Linked DNA regions of Homo sapiens: region 2 is linked to region 1. The links are contacts of gene promoters, found by promoter capture Hi-C in blood cells and fetal thymus (Javierre and others, 2016). All regions are on one chromosome and are shown on one strand. The core of a region is centred on a gene start or on the middle of the fragment in contact, and the rest is flanking DNA. Distances in the headings are between cores, read along the strand shown. Region 1 holds the start of RNF139 (ring finger protein 139). Region 2 overlaps SQLE (squalene epoxidase).

Region 1 (5,269 bases), core at 1,697-4,196:
TAATACTATTAAAACAAACTCCTAGGCTTGCATTTTCTGCCTTGGATTTAAATTTGCTAACTCAGCATTATGCTGCTCTGGGTTGAGTTTCGTTTAGTATTTAACATCCCTTAAAACACAGCTTTATGTTCTTCAATATTCCATATATTGTCATAGAATTTTATTTGGATCTCCAAAATGAGTTGCTTTATTTTCTAACCGGTTGAAATCTCAAATTAGTTTGATATCAAATGAAGGTACAGTTGTAGCACCATTTTGTAGGTAGAGGGGAGTAAATACTTCTACCACCACACATAAAACTGGTAATGCTTTTTACTTAGAGATTTCCATTTTTACACATTAATTTTAAAGAAAAAAGTGAGGTTGACAAGTGGTAAGACTTATACACAGTAGTACTGAGAAGTCTACAACTACAAAAAAACTAACAAGGCAGAACGATTAATTTCAACTATCCATTGGCATATTTACACACAAACCTGTGTCTTTTAGTAACATAATTTTTTAGCACCGAAATCAGTTTTTTTCATTCTTATCATCCTTACAAATGTGAAAAATTAGCATAATTACATGACACAGTAAGAAGAGTCGGATGATAGATTTGAAGAGTATTTCGTATTTCTCAAAGTCTGATCCAGAGATTCCAGGGATCAAAATTTTCAAATAAACAACACCAATATTTTGCCGATGATTTCAAAAGACCAAAATATCTAACAAAATATGGTATTAAATGAAGCATTAAAATAGATTTATTGTCTTTAACACCCTATGAAACAGATAACCTCACTCTCCATCTTTTAAAAGGTAAAAATAAGAAACCAAAGCACTGAGCAGTTGCCTTAAGTCATGTTGTTCTTTGTCAAACACAAACTTCCAAGATTTATTACAAAAGAAACATGCCTAGTACAAGGAAAATATCAGATTGCTTTGTTCAATGTTCTTACACTACAAATTATTTAATTAAAGAAAATACTTCTTTTCCTTGAAGCTGCCTAACCTGAAGCTCAACAGACTACTGCATTAAAGCACCAGGTCCCAAAGGGATTCTCACAGAATCTGCAGTTATCATGCTGTAAGAATATTCAAAGCAGTCACTACACTGTTTCTGGGATGAACATGCAGAATCCTCTCAAACAGAGCCCAGTTTTTAACACAAATTATGGTGGTGGTATACGTTAGCAGTGGCAAGTAGGAAAGGCTGGAATTAGGTAGCAGGTGGGTTACTGAAGCAGCTTGGGCTGAACATCACGTTTACATCTTTAGTTTTAAGATCTAGCATATGATCATTACTACTGCATTCTGTATCTGGATTGCAGCTGTTAGGGAGGAAAGTAAACCATATTTAATGTCAAAAGATTTTTAAGCTCAGGCTCTGGCAACCACTTAGCGGCAGCCTACCAAGAGCAAAACACTTAACCTCTATGACCCTGTTTCCTGGTTTGTAAAATGACAATACCACCACCCACCTCTGGGGGATGTTTGAAGGTTAGGTTAGATAATACCTACCAGTGAAAATGCTTTGCAAAAGGAAAATACCAGATAAATGTAAAATATGGCTATTTATTGCTAAGAACAAAATTCGGCCTTTATTGCCACTCCTCTTTTGAAGGAATAAAGCAACAGATGGCTTGTAATTCAGAAAGGCTTGGTAAAGACCTCACCATCAGTCTGCCCTCAGCAACACTTCAAAAGCACTAGCCTACTTAAGACCGATCACCAGAATTACCTCATCAACAAAATTTGCCAAGTTACAATTACTTAAAAAATTATTTTACGCATAAATGCATCTCCCTCTGATGATGTAAGTGAAGATGGAAAGGAAGAAATGAAATATAAGATACTTTTAACACTCCATCCATACGAAACAAAGACAATGATTTTCAGAAGTCTCTTTGGCAAATGTCTCATCACTTTTTACAGTCACTTTCAATACCTTCTCGTTTATTCATGGAAAATTTTAGGACTCGATTTAAGCATCGCCGCTTTCATGAGAATTTTTGGTAATGGTTTCAAGGTCTGACATTCAAAACCCTGTCTCCTTCGCTTGGATGTCATTTACTGCAGACACTTCACGATCCTGTGGACCCTCGGGTGCAGCAGAAGTGACAACATACAAGTACTCGGCATTTGGTAATAAAGGGAAACTGAGGCCCACGCCTTGGCAGAAGTCCAAGGTCACACACGACGAGACTGGGATAGCAGAGTTGTTTTTCGAAGGCTGTCGCATAGGACGCGGTAAGCCAGTACTCATTTCCCAAGGCAAACGGGCAAAGAGCTGCATGCTCACACATCCTTACTTTCTCCCCACCTCACTCAGGTACAACACTGAATCCTCGCTAGGGGGACTGCTCCGCTGTCAACTCAGACAAGTATCATCTCCTTCCCCCTCCCAACCCGTAAAGACGACCCTTTGAGGGATGAAACTGTAGTTCCCAAAGACACATACTCGACCCATGGCCTCTGCGCGCCTGCCCGCTCCCCGGGGAACGTCTCGGCCCGCATAGCCGTCCCGGGACGTACGGTACCCTGTTCCCTTACCAAAGAGCCGGAGGAAGATCTGGAGCACGATGCAGAACCGGCTTTGGCTGGAATCCGGGTAGGAGTTGAAGATGGCGTCGATGATGTAAAGGCAGGGCACCCGGAGCGCCACTTCGAGCGCCGCCCAGACCTGCTGATGGGCCATCCGCACCTGCTGCTGCGGGGGCCCCACGGCCGCCATGAGCCGCTGCCACACCAGGGCTCGGTGGGCCGGGCAGGGCCGCGCGGGGCAGGGCCCGGGGCCGCGGCCGGGGGCGGGGGCTAAGGCGGGCAACTCCGCCCCTGCCCTCCTTCCTCTCCTGTCTCTCTCACGGCCAGCCCCGCCGCCCGCTCGCGTCCCTCGAGGTGGAGCAGGCGGCGGAGGCAGCGATGGCCGAGAGGGCGGCGGCGGCGGCTCCCCAGGAGGTCTCTGGGTTTCGGTGTTTCCGGCTGGCTAAGGTCTGACTCCTCCTCCCTCCACTGCCTCCCCCGCCCGCGGAGCCACCATCTTGACCTCGCCCGCTGGCCTCTGCCGTTGCTGCTGTGGCTAGGCCCGGAGGCTGCGCCGTCAGTCAAGCGAACCGCAGAGTCCGCGCCCACTGCCTGCGTCATAATCCAGCGTCATAATCCAGCGCTAGAGACGCTCCCCATGTCGTCATCACCCATGGTTGCCATGGTTTCCGCCCACCTCCTCAGCTTACTCTAGCTTCGTGCCACCCCGTGGCGCATGCGCTTTTCGGTAGCCGCGCTTTCCGGCGTTGGAGTTGCAGCTTCACCCTCGCAGATTCGGCTTAGCGAGCGAGTCGGTGCTTCCGCGGATCAAAATTATTAGCCGTTTTATTAGAGCCCATTAAACGTTGCATAAACATGGTTCAGAGCTGCCTGGGAGAAGAAAAGCCAAAGGATGCCACCCTCTCGATTTATCCCACCCTCGGGAGTCTGAAAGCCGACGCCAGGAGAAATCCCGCGAAGGCCGCCCGGGATCCTGGTAGAGGCGACGCTGTGTGCGTTTATGGAGCGCTTGCGGTGCGTGGCACTAGGCTGGGTGTGGTGGGTGCTGCCGAAAAAAGGGTTCCTCCCATCCATTTGCACGTCACCCTTCCCACCTCCTGCCCAGATGGACAGAAGTGAGGACATTCATCGGCCGCATTTTACTAATGGCAAGGAGATAGCGACTGAAGGGCAAGAACCTAGGGTTTCCTGTCTTTGATATTTCTCATCTTTGAGGTAAGTACACCTGGACAGTCCCTTCCTTCCTCCTCAGGGCTCATGCTTTCTTGCCTATCCGTGTAATTAATATGATCTGGCTATCTTTGTCTTTGTTCCGAAACTTCAGCTGCAAATGAAAGTGTAAGTTAGGTCTGAGTCTGCACTATAGACCTAGCTATCCTAGGTTAAAGGGGATAAAATAGGAATCAAGAAGCCTGGCCCGCTTGGGCTCCCAGCTCAAGTGCATTCTGCAATCCAGTTTATATTAGGCCTCCATGTGGGTGGCTATCCTTTATCAAGATCCCCCCCAGGGGGAGGAGGATTATTAGTCACATTATCAAACTCCCCTCCAACCCCTTTCTCTGCTTAGAGGTATGTGTAATGTGTAGTAGAAAGACCGAATCCCCACCCAAAAGTCCTTACTGCTACTCATGTTTTTAACCTTCTGTTCTTTACCCTACTCCCTAATAATGACCGCCATCATTTATCTACTGCTTAATGGATACTAGGCACTGTGCTAAGGGTTTTATGTTTTACTTCAATCTTTTCATCGGCTTTATTTTGATAGTTTGTTTTATAGAGGAGGAAACAGACTTAGGTAAGTTACAAGATGACAAGGTTACTACCTTGTTCAGTTAGTAGTCAGCAGCTAGTATATCCAAAGATAGTACGAGTCAGAACTAGGATTATAAACTCAGGGCTACCTGAAACTCACAACTTCAGGCATCTTTGATTTCTTCTTTTCACCCACAGCCAATTCTTCAACTAAATTGTATCCATTCTGTTTTCACCGTCTCTTGTACTGGTCTCCTTTCTATTGTAACTGTCATCATCCTAACTCAAGATCCTTCTGTAGCTTTCCCCGGTTATTGGAATATCCTTATTACGACTGCCACCTTTTCTAATCCAGTCTGTTTACTACTGCCGGGTTAATTTCCCCAAACTGCATGTCTGGGGAATAACCTTGTGGTTATGACAGAATTCCCAAAGGAAAGCAAACTTGGCAAGGTGCAAAGACTATGAAGACTTAGAACTTAAGAGTTCTATGGAGATCTTCAGAAATATAAATTAGCTACTCAACATATCTGTTATTCTGCCCTGATTGCACTGTAAAGCAAAAGGAGAGAGGCCATTATGGGGAAAAAGATCCAAAAGGACTCATCTAAAACACAAGTTGGGTAGAGGAGATAGGTGAGTACTATTATATTATGTTCATGGAAAATGAGTTCATGGGCTTTCCTCTAATTTTTATTTTAAAAATAAATGTAAATATTAAATAAAATTTTTTAAATGAACAAATGCTTCAGTCTTTATTAATGTTTTAACTGTCCCTGATCTTAATTTGATGTACAAATTTTATTAGTGTAAGAGTTTCTTTGACTAAATTCCATCTTGGGCCGAGAACTTTCAGGAGCGGTGGCAGTCTTTTTTTTTTTTCACACAGCTTCTCCAAGCAGGCTCTCTGCCAAACTTGTCCAACCCACCTTATTTTGTTACTGTTGTTGTTCTGTTTTGTTTTAGGCTGTTAACAGCCTGAAGCCATGGT
Region 2 (5,269 bases), core at 1,517-4,016, 540 kb before region 1:
CTCCAAACCATCCTCCACAAAAATGTCAGAGTATATTCCTGAAATAAAAGTCTAATCATGCCACTGCCTCTTTAAGAAAATTCCATTTACAAAAGTATCAAAAAAGGTAAAATACTTAGGAATAAATTTAACAAAAGAAATGCAAAACTTATACTCTGAAAACTACAAAATATTGTTGAAAGAAACCCTTACCTTTCAGTCAAGGGAATTTTGACCACAAGGGCAAGAAAATTCACTGGGGAACAAACAGTCTTTTCAACAAATGATACTGGGACAACTGAATATCCACACACAAACAAATCAAGCTGGACCCCTTCCTCTCAACAGACACAAAATTTAACTCAAAATGGATCAAAGAGCTAAATTTAAGAGGTAAAACTATAAAACTCTTAGAAGAAAATATAGGAGTAACAGGCCAGGCATGGTGGCTCATGCCTGTAATCCCAGGACTTTGGGAGGCTGAGGTGGGTGGATCACCTGAGGTCAGGAGTTTGAGACCAGCCTGGCCAACATGGCGAAACCCCGTCTCTACTAAAAATACAAAAATTAGCTGGGCACGGTGGCGAGCACCTATAATCCCAGCTACTCGGGAGGCTGAGGCAGGAGAATTGCTTGAACCTGGGAGGCCGAGGTTGCAATGAGCCGAGATCGCACCATCGCACTCCAGCCTAGGCGACAAGAGCGAAACTCCATCTCAAAAAAAAAAAAAGAAAAAGAAAACATAGGAGTAAATCTTTTTGAACTTAGATTGGACAAAGCCTTCCTAAATATGACATCAAAAGCACAAGCAACGAAAGAAAAAATAAACATGAAAATTTAAACCATGTGTACTTCAATGGAAACCATTAAGAAGAATGGAAAGAAAACCCACAGAATGAGAAAAATTTTGCAAATCACATATCTAATAAGGGACTTGTACCTAAAATATATAAAGGACTCTTGAAACTCAACAATACATAAATTTTAAATCTGCCCAATTAAAAAAATATGCAAAGTCTAAATATACATTTCTCCAAACAACAAATGGCCTATATGCATATGAAAAGATGTTCAACATCATTATCTATGAGAGAAATGCAAATCAGCACAATGATAAAAGGCCTAGTTCACACTACTAGGATGGCTATGCACACAAAGATAATACAAGTGTTCACTGACAAGGATGTGGAGAAATTAGAACTCACACACTGCTGAAAGGAATGTAACTGGGACAGCTATTTTGGAAAACAAGTCTAGCAGCTCCTCAAAAAGTTAAACGTGAACTACTATGTAATCCAGCAATATCACTCTTGGGTATATAACCAAGAAAAATGAAAATATATGTCCACACAAAAACTCGCACACAGATGTTCATAGCAGCATTGCTTGTAATAACCAAAAAGTAGAAACAACCCAAATATCTATCAATTGATGAATGGCTAAACAAAATGTAATATAGCCACACAATGGAAGATTATTTGGCCATAAAAACAAATGAAGAACTGAAACATGCTACAACATGAATGAACCTCAAAAACATTGTGCTAAATGAAAAGCCAGTTCCAAAGGGCTTTACTATACAATGCCTTTAGGAAACATCCCAAATAGACAAATCTAGACACAGAAAGTAAATTAGGGGTAGCCTAGGGCTGAGTGTTGGGAGGAAATGGGGAGTGAATACCAATGGGTACGGGGTTTCTTTGGGCAAGATAAAAATGTTCTAAATTTGATTGTGGTGGTGATGCACACACTGTGAATATACTAAAAAAGTCACTGTACTGTACACTTTAAATGGGCAAACTGATTTGTGAATTATATATCAATAAAGTTAGTAACAAGAAAACACTTCAAATGACTTTCCATTGTCTGTAAGATTAAATGTTAATGGTCTGTCTCCCACTCTGACACCCACCCTATGCTCCTGCCATAGGAAACTGCTTGAGTTCCTTGAAAGTGCCACCATTTCTCATCCTTTGGCAATGTTATTCCATCTACCTAGAAGTTCCTCATCTTAGTGTCCACCTCATGAACTCCCACTCATCCTCCAGGTCCAAGGTCCTTTGTTTCCACTGTTTCCTGAACAACGTCCTCCCTAACTACCCCTCCCATTTCACAAGCTTCCCTCCCTGCTCTGCACACTTCTTGACACTGAATCTGTGGGTTTTATTTATCAACAGTGTTGTAAAATTATCTGTCTACATTCCTAAGTAGAAAATTGCCTTCTCTAGGTCAAGGTCAGTTTTTTACCTGTTGTTTCCCTGACTAGCACAATACTTGTATACACTCAATGTTAACAACTAAATAGATCATAAAACTAATTTTGGTATTAATAATGCACTAATCCACAGTGACAAACTATCTGTCCCAGAAGTTATTCGTAACAGTATAAATTTAATCATATATTTGTCATTTGGAATACTGATTCCTTTATAAAATAAGCCCAAAAAATAATACCTCGTTTCTTCACTGATGAAGGAGGAAGGAAGCTTGCTGGCATGGACCTCAGATGAGAATTGTCAGTGGCTTCTAAGAATGGTTCTTTCAGGTGATCTGCAATAAATCCCACCAACCCAAAGAAATGGGTCATAACACTTCAATTTCAAAGTATCACATATTTTCTTATCAAGTATAAACAAATGCCTACTATACATCTGTTATGGTTGTTACATATATCCCTTGTGATAAATCAAGAACTAATTATTTCATTAATAAAATTATTCATTAAGCACTTAGCTGTTAATGCCAAGGAATGACTAAGGAATCTAAGAGAACATTAATATAAACATACATACAACTGAATGAAAAAACAATGAGGCAAATTCAGATGAAATGAAACAGGGAGAAAACCACCTACCTTTCTTCCAAATGTTAACAGACTACTGTCATATTTAATATTTAATGTATTATAATCAATATATTCTTGTAATAATCAGATGAAATACACTACCAATTCACAAACAGCAGGAGGGTATGTACACTAGAAAAGGAATTCGAGGCCAGCCCTACCTCTCTGAGCTTCAATTTCTTCATCTATAAAAATGAAATGGTTTGATCAGCTCATCTCTGAGATACTTCCAAACAAGCTTTAAATTTCTGTGCTACTTATATAGAAAATGAACTGTCATACAATTCCCAGTGTGATCTGGGAATAGAGGAGCAGAAGCCTCTGTTAAAAATTATTCCATTCATATTAAGGAGTAGAATTTTGGTAATCTAACTAATATTAATATAAACCTACCAATGGTTTCTCTCCATAATTTCAGGGCACTCTACTCCAATTAACCTCTGGATTGGAAAAAAGAAAAAAAAAAGAAAAACCACCACATTTACAATAAAAGAAAAATAAATGCTAAAAATATCAGGTAATGGATGACCCTTTTCATAAATATTCATAATTTCCCCATCTGAAAGCTTCAAAAGTGGCTTAACTAAATGAAAATTTATTGAAATGTTTCCATGTACATGTTGAAAATGTCATTATTTAAAATCTAAGTTTGCCCACTTCATTTCACTTCATTTCTGTTAATAATTTGTTACTAAAGTGGTTTCACTTAGTTTAAAAAATAACTTGAAAAAAACGGAATATTTAAACAAAATGTACTCATACCAAAAATAGTTTCCTATTACTCTAATCATATCATAATTGACAATGAGGGTTTCCCTTCAATTTTATCAAAATTCTTAAATTTTTTTTACTTTTCTTTCCTATATCATCCCATTCTCAAAAAAAGATCCTAAAAACTGTACCATGAAAACTTTAGATTTGTGAAAAAGTAATTTTTATTAATGTTTTTACAAAGCTATCTAAATCTCATGAAGCCTTTATATTCAACTCAAAACTAACATGATCCTGAAGATCCCTTACAATTCTCACATTCTGCGGACAGGACATGTCTGTTCAAACAGGCACATATGAGCCAGACAGACCTGATATCAACCCTGGTTCTGCCATTACTAATAGTTTATACTTGGAGGAGCTAACTAATCTCTCTGAACCTTAGTTCTCCCATCTGTAAAATGAGAATAATGATAATGCCTACCTCACAGAGTGGTTACATAGATTAAATGAAATTATGTTTGCTAAACACTTTATAGTAAGCATTCAAGAAATGGTAGCTGTCATTACTACAAAAACCAAGCACAAAAATATTTAGGTATAAGAGATAAAGAATTCAGAGTCAGATTCGTGTCCAGAGACTACCTTTAAAAATACCATATATGCCAATAAAAACAATTATTCTAAAAACTATGCTATTATGTGACAAAAACATATCAAAACTTTTTTTTTTTTTTGAGACGGAGTTTCGCTCTTGTTGCCCAGGCTGGAGTGCAATGGCACGATCTCGGCTCACTACAACCTCTGCCTCCCGTTCAAGCGATTCTTCTGCCTCAGCCTCCTGAGTAGCTGGGATTACAGGCATGCACCACCACACTCGGCTAATTTTGTATTTTTAGTAGAGACGGGGTTTCTCCATGTTGGTCAGGCTGGTCTTGAACTCCCAACCTCAGGTGATCTGCCCACCTCAGCCTCCCAAAGTGGTGGGATTACAGGCATGACCTACTGTGCCCGGCCCGAAACTTTTTTTTATTAATTTGGGAGTTTGTTTTGCTGTTTTTAAGTGCTAGTTTAAATAGTTCAGTTCCAGAATATCTGGTTGACTGGATGAATGTTTCACCTGCCATCCTTATCTCTGGCCTATTTTAGACACAGCCTTTGTAAGAACTGAAGATGCTATTTCTTACCAGGTATTTGTGGGTAAATTTTTTCAACCATGTATTCTCTTAAATTCCTTGGCATTTCTCCTCTAATGTCAACAAGTACTCGAGTTTCACTGGATGAAATCTGGTAGATGAGAACTGGACTCGGGTTAGCTAAAATAAGTTCAGCATGATTTGCTTTAAACTGTGGTGCATTCTAAAACAAATAAAAAGAAAATGTTTTAATAATTTTCAAATTTCAAGTTTCTTTTATTGAAATTACAATAACACACTCCTACAGTACCTTCATAAGAAAGCCAACAAAATGAGATGATACAGAAACTTTATTGGAGACCAGGCTTTTCCTGAACTTGGAGAAAAGCCCATCTGCAACAACAGTCAGTGGAGCATGGAGTTCCTATAACAGAAATGAAGACTACTCAGTTTAGTAGTCAGAAACACACAGTAAAAAAAGCCATTCTTAAAAAATGTGCGTGAAGAGATTTAGATATATTATCAGATAGCATTATAGAGAGTAGTTGAAGATAATACTATTGAAGAAACTGTTACGTGGGCTTCAGATAACGCATGA

The links. Contacts are between HindIII fragments. The CHiCAGO score rates a contact against its expected background, and 5 or more counts as called.
Region 2: a fragment that was not itself captured here is called in contact with the fragment with the promoter of RNF139 in region 1 in 1 of 17 cell types (erythroblasts); the score reaches 5.7 in erythroblasts.

The regions. Positions count from the first base shown.
Region 1 is chr8:124,472,557-124,477,825 of GRCh38, reverse strand. It overlaps RNF139 (ring finger protein 139), which reads right to left and starts at 2,946. Exons shown (of 2, transcript NM_007218.4): 1 at 2,536-2,946. The coding sequence starts at 2,716. RNF139-DT (RNF139 divergent transcript) reads left to right here and starts at 3,263. Exons shown (of 2, transcript NR_108047.1): 1 at 3,263-3,741. RefSeq lists enhancers at 1,947-2,490, 2,491-3,036, 2,999-3,328, 3,037-3,581, 3,669-3,858 and a silencer at 2,669-2,978. The HindIII fragment of the contact is 6,816 bases long and covers 1-5,269 here.
Region 2 is chr8:125,008,797-125,014,065 of GRCh38, reverse strand. It overlaps SQLE (squalene epoxidase), which reads right to left. Exons shown (of 11, transcript NM_003129.4): 5 at 4,982-5,095; 6 at 4,723-4,894; 7 at 2,434-2,529. Among named protein-coding and RNA genes, the nearest start is that of SQLE, 13 kb to the right of the region's middle. The HindIII fragment of the contact is 597 bases long and covers 2,468-3,064 here.